2 separate regions of the Homo sapiens genome follow, and region 2 is linked to region 1. The links are contacts of gene promoters, found by promoter capture Hi-C in human tissues and cell types (Jung and others, 2019). All regions are on one chromosome and are shown on one strand. Each heading gives the region's core, a stretch centred on a gene start or on the middle of the fragment in contact. The rest is flanking DNA. Distances are from core to core; before and after follow the strand shown. Region 1 holds the start of SPSB1 (splA/ryanodine receptor domain and SOCS box containing 1). Region 2 has its middle 19 kb from the start of LINC02606.

Region 1 (5,215 bases), core at 1,849-4,348:
CTGGATTTCACTGATCTAGTGTTGAGGGCTGGGGAGAGGATAACACACCCCTGGGCAGACTGAGGCACACCTGTACCTGACCTTGTGCTGTCGTCTGATAAAATTTTTCAGAACCAAAAGATACACTGAGTCATGCACACCAGCTACAACCTATTTCTCGAGAAAAATTGATACAAAATGCCCAGACGAACTCATGAACACCGTAAGAATCAGAGGTTTCGCTGAATTTGAAAATGCGTCTGCAGGCAAGTTTCCATCCACCCAGGAGGAGGGGCAGGTGCAGGAAGGGAGCACGGCACACACCATGGGGGTGGGAGGGCAGCGCTGGCTTCCACGGGCTAGGCCCCCACCCCATTCCCCAGCTCTGGTGAAGAAATTCAACATCTGTGATGATTCCAAGGGGGTGAGATTCTGCAGCAGCCCAGAGGGACCCACTGAAGGGTGGATCCAGCCTTACTACAGCAGCCCAAGAAACGGCCTCACCCAGCTCCAAAGTGACATCACCAGGGCCCCAGGCAGGCCCACCCCTTCCTAAGAGCCCTGAAACCCACTGATTCTTCCCAGGGCCAGGTCTCTCTTAAGCCGGCATGGCACCCGCCTTGCTCCCTGCTCGGGGCTGTCTGAGCCACTGGGGCCAACATGCTACTGCTTTTGTTTTCTCTGCTGCTAGGGTGGTAGCCAGACTGGAAAAGGAAGACTTGTAAAGTGATTGCCTTAGTCCACTCCACACCTCCCCAACCGCACGCGCGCACACACACACACACACACACACACTCACACTCTCACACACACACACACACTCCATCTACTGGGTAAAGTGCTCCCTGCAGAAGAAAAGCAGCTGTAAGAGAGCAGGAGTGCTTTAAATGATCTAATCCAGCCCATCACTTCACAGCTGGGGAGACACGAAGTGCCTGGCCCATGACCTCAGTGCTGGGGACAGTAACCAAGAGCAACAGTTTCAGGACTGGGGAGTCTTGGTCCACAGCCCTGGCTGTGCAGTCTGGGTAAGTGAACCGCCCTCTCTGGGCCTCTCTAGGACAGGCTGGCCTAGACAGTAAGACAGGACTTCCCTGACTCCAAAATTCCTCAGTGTGGAGAGACCACCTGTGCTGCCCATGCTTAGCCCAGGGCTTTCCACCACTGGGAGGGGGGTCTGAGGAGGGGGACAGGGCAGAAGGGAGAGGCCCCCATCCCCTTCCTTGCTTGCTGTTCTCCTCACACCCCACGATGAGAAATGAAGTTGTGGGCCCAGCCCCCCCAACGAGAAAATTCTTCCAAGGACATCAAACCTTAGTCACCAGGGATGGCGCTTTTACCATGAACACCTGTTAAAACTCAACTCATGACCAGTTTCTGATGCTACAGACTGGAGTGTTTAATTAAATATTACTCACTCAGGAAGCAGCCCCTGCCAACTCACCCCCAAACTGTGTAGTTCATTTTCAGAGAAATGGAGAGAGGAAGAGCCTGCGCTCTCCTCGGGGGCACCAGCAGGGCTTGCCTAGTGGGGTGTCTGTGGCCCAGCATGCCCGGCTATCCAGAACCAAGTAAAGAAATCACCATGAGGAGCAGTACCTAGGAACCAGAGGGCCCCCTGGATGGTCCCCACACACACTCACAGAGAAACACACACAAAGACACACAGACACACACTTGGAGACACACAGACACTCACACATACACAGACGCACTCAGAGACACAGACACAGAGACAGACACAGAGACACGTGTGGACACACAAAGAGACACAAAGACACACACACGCAAAGACACACACAGACACAAAGACACAGAGACACACATTTGCAGAGACAGACACTCAGAGACACAAACTTGCAGAGACACACACCCAAAGACACATACACACTCACACACAGACACACACAAAGACACACAGACATACACAGAGAGGCACACACAAATACACAAAGACGCACTCAGACACACACACACACACACAGTCACTTAGAGTCTCAGGCACACATTGACAGACACACAGACTCACACACACACTCAGAGGCACATAAATACACAGATGCACTTAGAGACACACTCACACACACACCCACATGAACACACAGACACACTCATACGCAGGCACATATTCACAAGGACATGCACAAACACACACGCAGATGCACTCTCAGAGACACCCGCTCTTCCTGCAGACCCGCACCCTCCTCTCGGGGCCGTCCCGTCCTCACCGGAACCTGGACGCCACCGAGCCCAGTACACGCCCGGGGACGGTGACCCATCCGCGGTTCCTCCCGCGGGCCCAGGCCGCCCTTGTTTTTCTGATTTAATCGATTTCCTGACAACCCTCCGGCTCTCCCTCCGCTGCTGGGAGAAGCCGCGGCGGCTCCGGGGCGGCGGGGAGGGCGGCGCTCGGGTGTCCCCGGCAGGCTCCCTGGGGGAGGCGCTGCGGGAGGGTGGGGGCGCCCCGACGGGGGACCGGGCCGCGCCGCCAATCCCGACTCGGACTGGCGGGAAAAGCGAAACTAACTCAGCCGAGCGGGGTCCCGCTTTCCCCGGGCTAAAGGGGGGACGGGTCGGCGGCCCCGGAGCGCCCCAGCCCCTCCTCGGGACCGCAACTCGTTGCGACGGTCCCCGCGCCCCGAGACCCCCGCCGCGCCTCGCCCCGGGACCCCCTGCCCTGCAGCGGCGGCAGCGCGGGGCGGGCCTGGGCCCCTCTCCCAGGAGCCGCGGCGAGGGAGGCGCCCCCGGAGCCACCGCGGGAGGGGCCGCGCCCCGAGTCCCCATCCCGTACTCCACCCGCTCCCCCGCGCCCGGCCCCGCGCCACCCACTCGGTCCCCCAGCGGCGCGATCCCCGCGTCCGCCCTCGCCCGGCCCCCCGCGCCTCCCCCTCCCGGGCCGGTCGCCCACCCATCGGGGTCCCAGGTGCCCCGCGCCGCCTACCGCGCCCGGGGTGCCGCCGCCGCCGCTGCTCTCCAAGGCCGAGGAGGCTCGGGCGCCCGGGCCGCGCCCGCCGCAGGGAGCGAAGTCGCCTCCTCCCCGCGGCCCCGGCCCCGGCGCCGGCGCCTGGAGCCTGGTTCCTGCTGCGAGCGCGCAGGCTGCCCGAGCGCGACTTCTGTGCGGAGGAGAAAAAGCAACCGACGGCTTTAAAGTGAAAAAAAAGAGAAAAGCGCCGGTGGGCGGGGCCGTCCCTGCCCCGCCCCGCCCCGCCCCGCCCCCGACCTCGGGCGCACGGACCACTCAGCACTGCAGGGAAGGCCGGGGGCGCGGGGCGCGGGGCGCGGGGCGCGTCAGCCCGGCGCTGGTTCGGCCGCCCCCTCCGCCCCCTTAGTCCGCAGCCCTCTCCCGAGCCGCCGCCCTGGTGTTGCCGGCCCGAAGCTCGGGTCCCTCCGGAGGCGTCTTTGGGAAACGCGTGGCGCAGGGCCTGGGTTGCAGCCGTGGGAGGCTGGAGTGGGGGCGGGGGTCTTACGAGAAGGAGAAATCTTCGCGGAGAGTGGGGTTGTCCCAGGAACCCCGAGCAAGGCCTCGCCGGCCTCCTCTGAAGTGCCCAGCGGGGACGAGTGGGCAGCCGCCGGGGGTCCAGGGAGCCTCCTGCAGCGCTGTTTCGGCCGCTCGCGTTTCGGTGCCCACGGGGACGGGGGCCTCGGACCTCGAGACCCTGAGGGCGCGGGCACCTGGCATCCGCAGGGCTGCTCCCTGAACAGGTCCCAGCCTCTGGGGACTTGTCCTGTGGCTCTAGCTCGTTCAAGGAATTTTCCTCCCCCTTCCCCGAACAGAGCAGTCACTTGGGACTGGGAAGATTTTAAAGACTTTGCTGTTTTGAGAGCAAAATCTCCTGGCATTCCCCACCCCTCGCTGTGTAGTGTCCATTGAAAACGGTGAGGAGTTAGCCTTTCTGGGGGAGCCGAAACAAATAGCGGGGCTTCCGTAGTTACTGTGTCTTTACCATAACCCAGTACAGTGAGGGTGGGACTAATGACACACTCACTGTAAAGGCGAGGAAACAGTGCCTGGCCCGAGGCCAGCTGTCCAGAGCTTGGAACCCAATTGAACTGTGAGATTACAAAGTTTGATGTCTCTCATTTTACGGTGCTGAAAATCAGTTTGGTTTAGCTTTGTTTGAACTCAGAATAGGATTACGGAGACTCAACCAACTGCCCTGGGCTGGGCGGGCCTGAGTGGGCATTCTGACTTTCCAGGTGCCAGCGGTTTAGGAATGTTGAACCCAGACTAGTCAGGTGGGCAGCCATGGCCAGCAGCTTAGGGGTGCTTCCCATTTAAAAGATCACTTGAGGCTGGAGGTGGTGGCTCTCACGCCCTTAATCCCCACACTTTGGGTGGCTGAGGCAGGCAGATCACTTAAGCCCAGGAGTTCAAGAGCAGCCCGGGCAACAGAGCAAGACACAGACTCTGCACAAAAATTAAATAATAATAATAATAATTGGCCGGGCATGATGGCTCACACCTGTAATCCCAGCGCTTTGGGAGGCTGAGGCAGGTGGATCACCTGAGGTCAGAAGTTCAGGACCAGGCTGGGCTTGGTGGCTCACACCTGTAATCCCAGCACTTTGGGAGGTCGAGGCGGGCGGATCACGAGGTCAGGAGATGGAGACCATCCTGGCTAACACGATGAAACCCGTCACTACTACAAATATAAAAAATTAGCCAGGCGTGGTGGCGGGCATCTGTAAGTCCCAGCTACTTGGGAGGCTGAGGCAGGAGAATGGTGTGAACCCGGGAGGCAGAGATTGCAGTGAGCCGAGATTGCGCCACTGCACTCCAGCCCAGGTGACAGAGCGAGACTCCGTCTCACAAAAAAAAAAAAAAAAAAAAAAAAAGAAGTTCAGGACCAGCCTGGCCAACATGGCAACACTCCATCTCTACTGAAAATGCAAAAATTAGCTGGGTGTGGTGGTACGTGCCTGCGATCCCAGCTACTCGGGAGGCTGAGGCAGGAGAATCTCTTGAACCCAGGAGGCAGAGGTTGCAGTGAGCCGACATCGCACCACTGCACTCCAGCCTGGGCAACAGAGCGAGACTCCATCTCAAAAAAAAAGAAAAAAAAGGTAATAATAATTTTAAAAGAGCATATGACCCCCTCCAGCCACTCTGCAGTTTGAGAACTGTTGTTTACTTGGGAGACTGGTGAGAGCCTCTGGGACAGGCCCATGGGGTGCAGCCCACGTCAGTCATTGCTGAAAATCACAGCTGCCTCTGATGGGTTCATTTCTCCTTGGG
Region 2 (4,832 bases), core at 1,894-4,393, 120 kb before region 1:
GGCCTCAGACACCAAGGTGCCCCAGAATTGATGGCTGAGCCCACAAGCTGGCTGCTTGCCAAGGTGAAGGCCTGAGCCACCTCTCCCACTCCACCTTTTTTTTTTTTTTTTGAGAGTTTTGCTCTGTCACCCAGGCTGGAGTGCAGTGGCGTGATCTCGGCTCACTGCAACCTCCACCTCCCGGGTTCAAGCGATTATCGTGCCTCAGCCTCCCGAGTAGCTGGGATTACAGGTGCCTGCCACTGTGCCTGGCTAATTTTTGTATTTTTAGTAGAGGTGGGGTTTCACCATGTTGGCCAGGCTGGTCTTGAACTCCTGACCTTGTGATCCGCCCACCTCAGCCTTCCAAAGTGCTGGGATTATAGGCATGAGCCACCATGCCCCGCCTATTTTAATGTTTAATATTAGAAGTTGTATTAGTCCATTTTCACGCTGCTGATAAAGACATACCCAAGACTGGGCAATTTACAAAAGAAAGAGGTTTAATTGGGCTTATAGTTCCATGTGGCTGGGGGGGCCTCACAGTCATGGCAGAAGGCAAGGAGGAGCATGTCCCATCTTACATGGATGGCGGCAGGCAAAAAGACAGAACTTGTGCAGGGGAACTCCTCTTTTTAAAACCATCAGATCTCATGAGACCCATTCACCGTCACGAGAACAGTACGAGCAAGACCTGCCCTATGATTTAATCACCCCCCACCGGGTCTCTCCCACAACACGTGGGAATCGTAGGAGTTACAAGATGAGATTTGGGTGGGGACACAGAGCCAAACTGTAGTTTGCCTGTAGTCCAGGGTGCTTGGGAGGTGAGGTGAGAGGATCGCTTAAGCCTGGGAGGCAGAGGTTGCAGTGAGCTGAGATTGCACCACTGTACTCCAGCCTGGGCAACAGGGGAAGACCCTGTCTAAAAAAAAAAAAAAAAAAAAAAAAAAGAAAGAAAGGAAAAAAAAGAAAAAGGCCAGGTGCGCTGGCTCATGCCTGTAATCCCAGCACTTTGGGAGGCTGAGGCGGGTGGATCACCTGAGGTTGGGAGTTCAAGACTAGTCTGACTAACATAGTGAAACCCCATCTCTACTAAAAATACAAAATTAGCCGGGTGTGGTGGCTCATGCCTGTAATCCCAGCTACTTGGGAGGCTGAGGCAGGAGAATCGCTTGAACCTGGGAGGTGAAGGTTGCAGTGAGCCGAGATTATGCCATTGCACTCCAGCCTGGGCAACAAGAGTGAAACTCTGTCTCAAAAAAAAAAAAAAAGAAAGAAAGAAAAGAAAAGAAAAGAGAGAGGTGGGCAGGTCTCTCCTACATTGTGTTATGGTAGTGTGGTGGTGTGGTCGTGTGGTGTTGTGGTGTTGTGGTAGTGTGGTATTGTGGTGTTATGGTAGTGTGGTGTGGTAGTGTGGTGTTGTGGTGTGGTGTTGTGGTGGTGTGGTAGTGTGGTGGTGTGGTGTTGTGGTGGTGTGGTAGTGTGGTGTTCTGGTAGTGTGGTGGTGTGGTGTTATGGTAGTGTGGTAGTGTCCTGGTCAAAGGGCTTTCTGCCACCACGTTATCTTCTTTTGCAGGCCGACTGTTGCAACTTTATTCTACTGCATTATACAAGCAGGGACTGTGCTATCTGGAGGCCAGACCAGACTGGTAGAGAAGTATCTTAAGTGTTTCCTGACACCACAAATCCCCAAACACACTTGTGGTTCAGTTTCTGCTCACGCTACCCGACTTAAGTAACTTGTGCAGGACTCCAATCATCTCAGCATTAAGCCCTCCTGCACTCAAGGCCTTGCTCTGTGGCCTTTGAGCCTCAGCTTCCTGAGCTGTAAAATAGAGCTAGTAAGACCTTTCCTATAGAGCTGTAGGGGAATGGGTTCACGGCACGGTGGAGCTGACTTGTACTGACTCAGGAGGGTTGACTGATGATTTTCAGAAATCATTGGAGCCAGTTTGTAAATACAGCCATCATTAACAATTAAGTTCTATACACTTACGATTAAATAAATTATATTAAAAACAAAGCTCTAAAGACTCAAGACTCCTGGCTTCCTAATTATCTTACTACATTTTACCTATGCCCTGAGGTTATTTATATCCATGGTCTCTGCCTTGTGGAAGTGCTAGTAATGGTGGCTACTGAACACCTCTTCCCAACTCCACATTCAACAATGTCACTCTGGGACCTCAAAACCAACTGCGCTGGGAGTATTTACACCACAGAAATGGGCAAATGCTCTCAGCCAGGGCTTTCTTTACTCTTTTGTTGATTTTCTAGATTTAAGAAAGCAATGGAGAAAATGTTAATATTGGCCAGGCACGGTGGCTCACACCTGTAATCTCAGCATTTGGGAGGCCGAGGTGGGCAGATCACTGAGGTCAGGAGTTCAGGACCAGCCTGGCCAACATGATGAAACCCTGTCTCTACTAAAAATACAAAAATTAGCTTGGTGTGGTGTCGCATACCTGTAACCCCAGCTACTTGAGAGGCTGAGGCAGGAGAATCACTTGAACCCAGGAGGTGGAGGTTGCACTGAGCCGAGATTGTGCCACTGCACTCCAGCTTGGGCCACAGAGTGAGACTCCAAAACAAAAAGTTAATATTGCAAATTAAACTTGAAAGTGAATTGTACTTCTAGCAATAACATTGTGAATAGTACAAAAGATAAGGAACTATTCTCCCAGTATTCAAAGCTGTTATCCAATTTAGCAAAAAAAAGTAAAGTTCCAATATATAGTTGTCCCTTGGTATCCCAGACCCAGCCACCCAGGTGGAAGAAGGAGCCCAGGACCTGGAGGACACAGAACAGTGGAGGTGTCAGGCCAGGCCTGTGAGGTTTGGAGCTGGACCTGAACAGGATGGGGCCTCCAACTCTATCACTCCCACCCACCAAAGGGCAAGCTGGGCCCTGGCAAGTTGCAGGCCGAGAGTTTGGAAGCATAGGCTCCAGGTGTGAGTTCAAACCCTGGCTGTGACATTTATTTATTTATTTTTTTATTTTGAGACGGAGTCTCACTCTGTCACCAGGCTGAAGTGCAGCGGCGCAATCTAGGCTCACCGCAACTTCCACCTCCCGGGTTCAAGAAATTATCTTGCCTCAGCCTCCCAAGTAGCTGGGATTACAGGTACGCACCACCACGCCCGGCTGATTTTGTATTTTTAGTAGAGACGGGGTTTCTCCATGTTGGTCAGGCTGGTTTTGAACTCCCGACCTCAGATCCTGACATTTATAAGCTTCAATCTTGGGCAACCACTTACCTTCCTTCCCTGAGCCCTTGTTGTCCCATCTGGACCCATTAGTTTCAGGACCCTCCCTTGGATACCAAAATCCACGAATGCTCAAATCCCTTATATAAATTGGTGTAGTAGTTGCATATAACCTACACATATCCTCTCGTATATCTGAAATCATTTCTACACTACTTATAATACCTAATACAATGTAAATGCGGTGTAAATAGTTGTTATACTGTATTGTTTAGGAAATAATGACAAAAATAAGAAGTCTGTACATGTTTGGTACAGATGCAACCGTCCATTTTTTTTGAATGAATATTTTAGATCCATGGTTAGTTGAATCCATAAATGTGAAATCCACAGATTTAAAGGGCCTGCCGAATGTCTTTTTTGTTTCACTGTTTCTTACTCATTGACATACATGAAAATGCCAATCAACCCTCATATTAGAATCACACTCACTCATCAATACCATGAGCTATTTCTGGGCCAGGCTCAGTGGCTCACGCCTGTAATCCCAGCACTTTGGGAGGCCGAGGTGGGTGGATCACGAGGTCAGGAGTTTGAGACCAGCCTGACCAACATGGTGAAACCCCATCTCTACTAAAAATACAAAAATTAGCCGGGTGTGGTGTTGGGCGCCTGTAATCCCAGCTACTCAGGAGGCTGAGGCAGGAGAATTGCTTGAACCCGGGAGGTGGAGGTTGCAGTGAGCTGAGATTACGCCATTGCACTCCAGTCTGGGTGACACAGCAAGACTCCATCTCAAAAAAAACAAAACAAAACAAAACAAAAACCAAAAAAAACTATGAGCTATTTCTTTTGTTGGGTCAGGTAGTAATCAAGCACTTATTTGTGGTAGGATTTATACTCTATGTTCACATATGTATGTGTACTCTCCCCCACCCCAACCTGCCCTCCAGATAGCTGGTTGTTCAGCATTTACCCCGCACAGCACAGAATGTGGCCATGGATGTGAAAATTCTTACCACAGAGACAGGGCTCCACGATGTCAGCTCAGCGATGGCCCTGTGGCTGGAACCCTTTGGAAAGGCGACATGTGTGTCTGAGTTGAGGTGGAAACTAGTTCTTTTTTTTTTTTTTCTGAGACTAAATCTCGCTCTGTCACCCAGGCTGGAGTTCAGTGGCATGATCTCGGCTCACTACAACCTCCTCCTCCCGGGTTCAAGCAATTCCTCTGCCTCAGCCTCCTGAGCAGCTGGGATTACAGGCGCATGCCACCATGCCCGGCTAATTTTTGTATTTTTAGTAGAGATGGGGTTTCACCATATTGGCCAGGCTGGTCTCGAACTCCCGACCTCGTGATCTGCCTGCCTTGGCCTCCCAAAGTGCTGGGATTACAGACATGAGCCACTGCGCCCAGCCAGAACTAGTTCTTTTACTTTATTTATTTATTTATTTATTTGAGATGGAGTCTCACTCTATCACCCAGGCTGGAGTGCCATGGCACGATCTGGACTCACTGCAACCTCTGCCTCCTGGGCTCAAGCAATCCTCCTGCCTCAGCTTCTCAAGCAGCTGGGACCACAGACATGTGCCACAATGCCTAGCTAATTTTTGTAGTTTTGATAGAGACAGAGTTTCACCATGTT

What was found. Contacts are between HindIII fragments. The study calls those that stand out against the background at their distance.
Region 2: a contact is called between a fragment that was not itself captured here and the fragment with the promoter of SPSB1 in region 1, in 5 of the 25 tissues and cell types used here (bladder, dorsolateral prefrontal cortex, heart right ventricle and 2 more).

What each region holds. Positions count from the first base shown.
Region 1 is chr1:9,290,777-9,295,991 of GRCh38, reverse strand. It overlaps SPSB1 (splA/ryanodine receptor domain and SOCS box containing 1), which reads right to left and starts at 3,098. Exons shown (of 3, transcript NM_025106.4): 1 at 2,921-3,098. RefSeq lists silencers at 2,164-2,453, 2,994-3,063, 3,134-3,213, 3,264-3,433. The HindIII fragment of the contact is 10,751 bases long and covers 1-5,215 here.
Region 2 is chr1:9,407,786-9,412,617 of GRCh38, reverse strand. No RefSeq gene overlaps it. Among named protein-coding and RNA genes, the nearest start is that of LINC02606, 19 kb to the left of the region's middle. RefSeq lists an enhancer at 1-12. The HindIII fragment of the contact is 3,343 bases long and covers 1,472-4,814 here.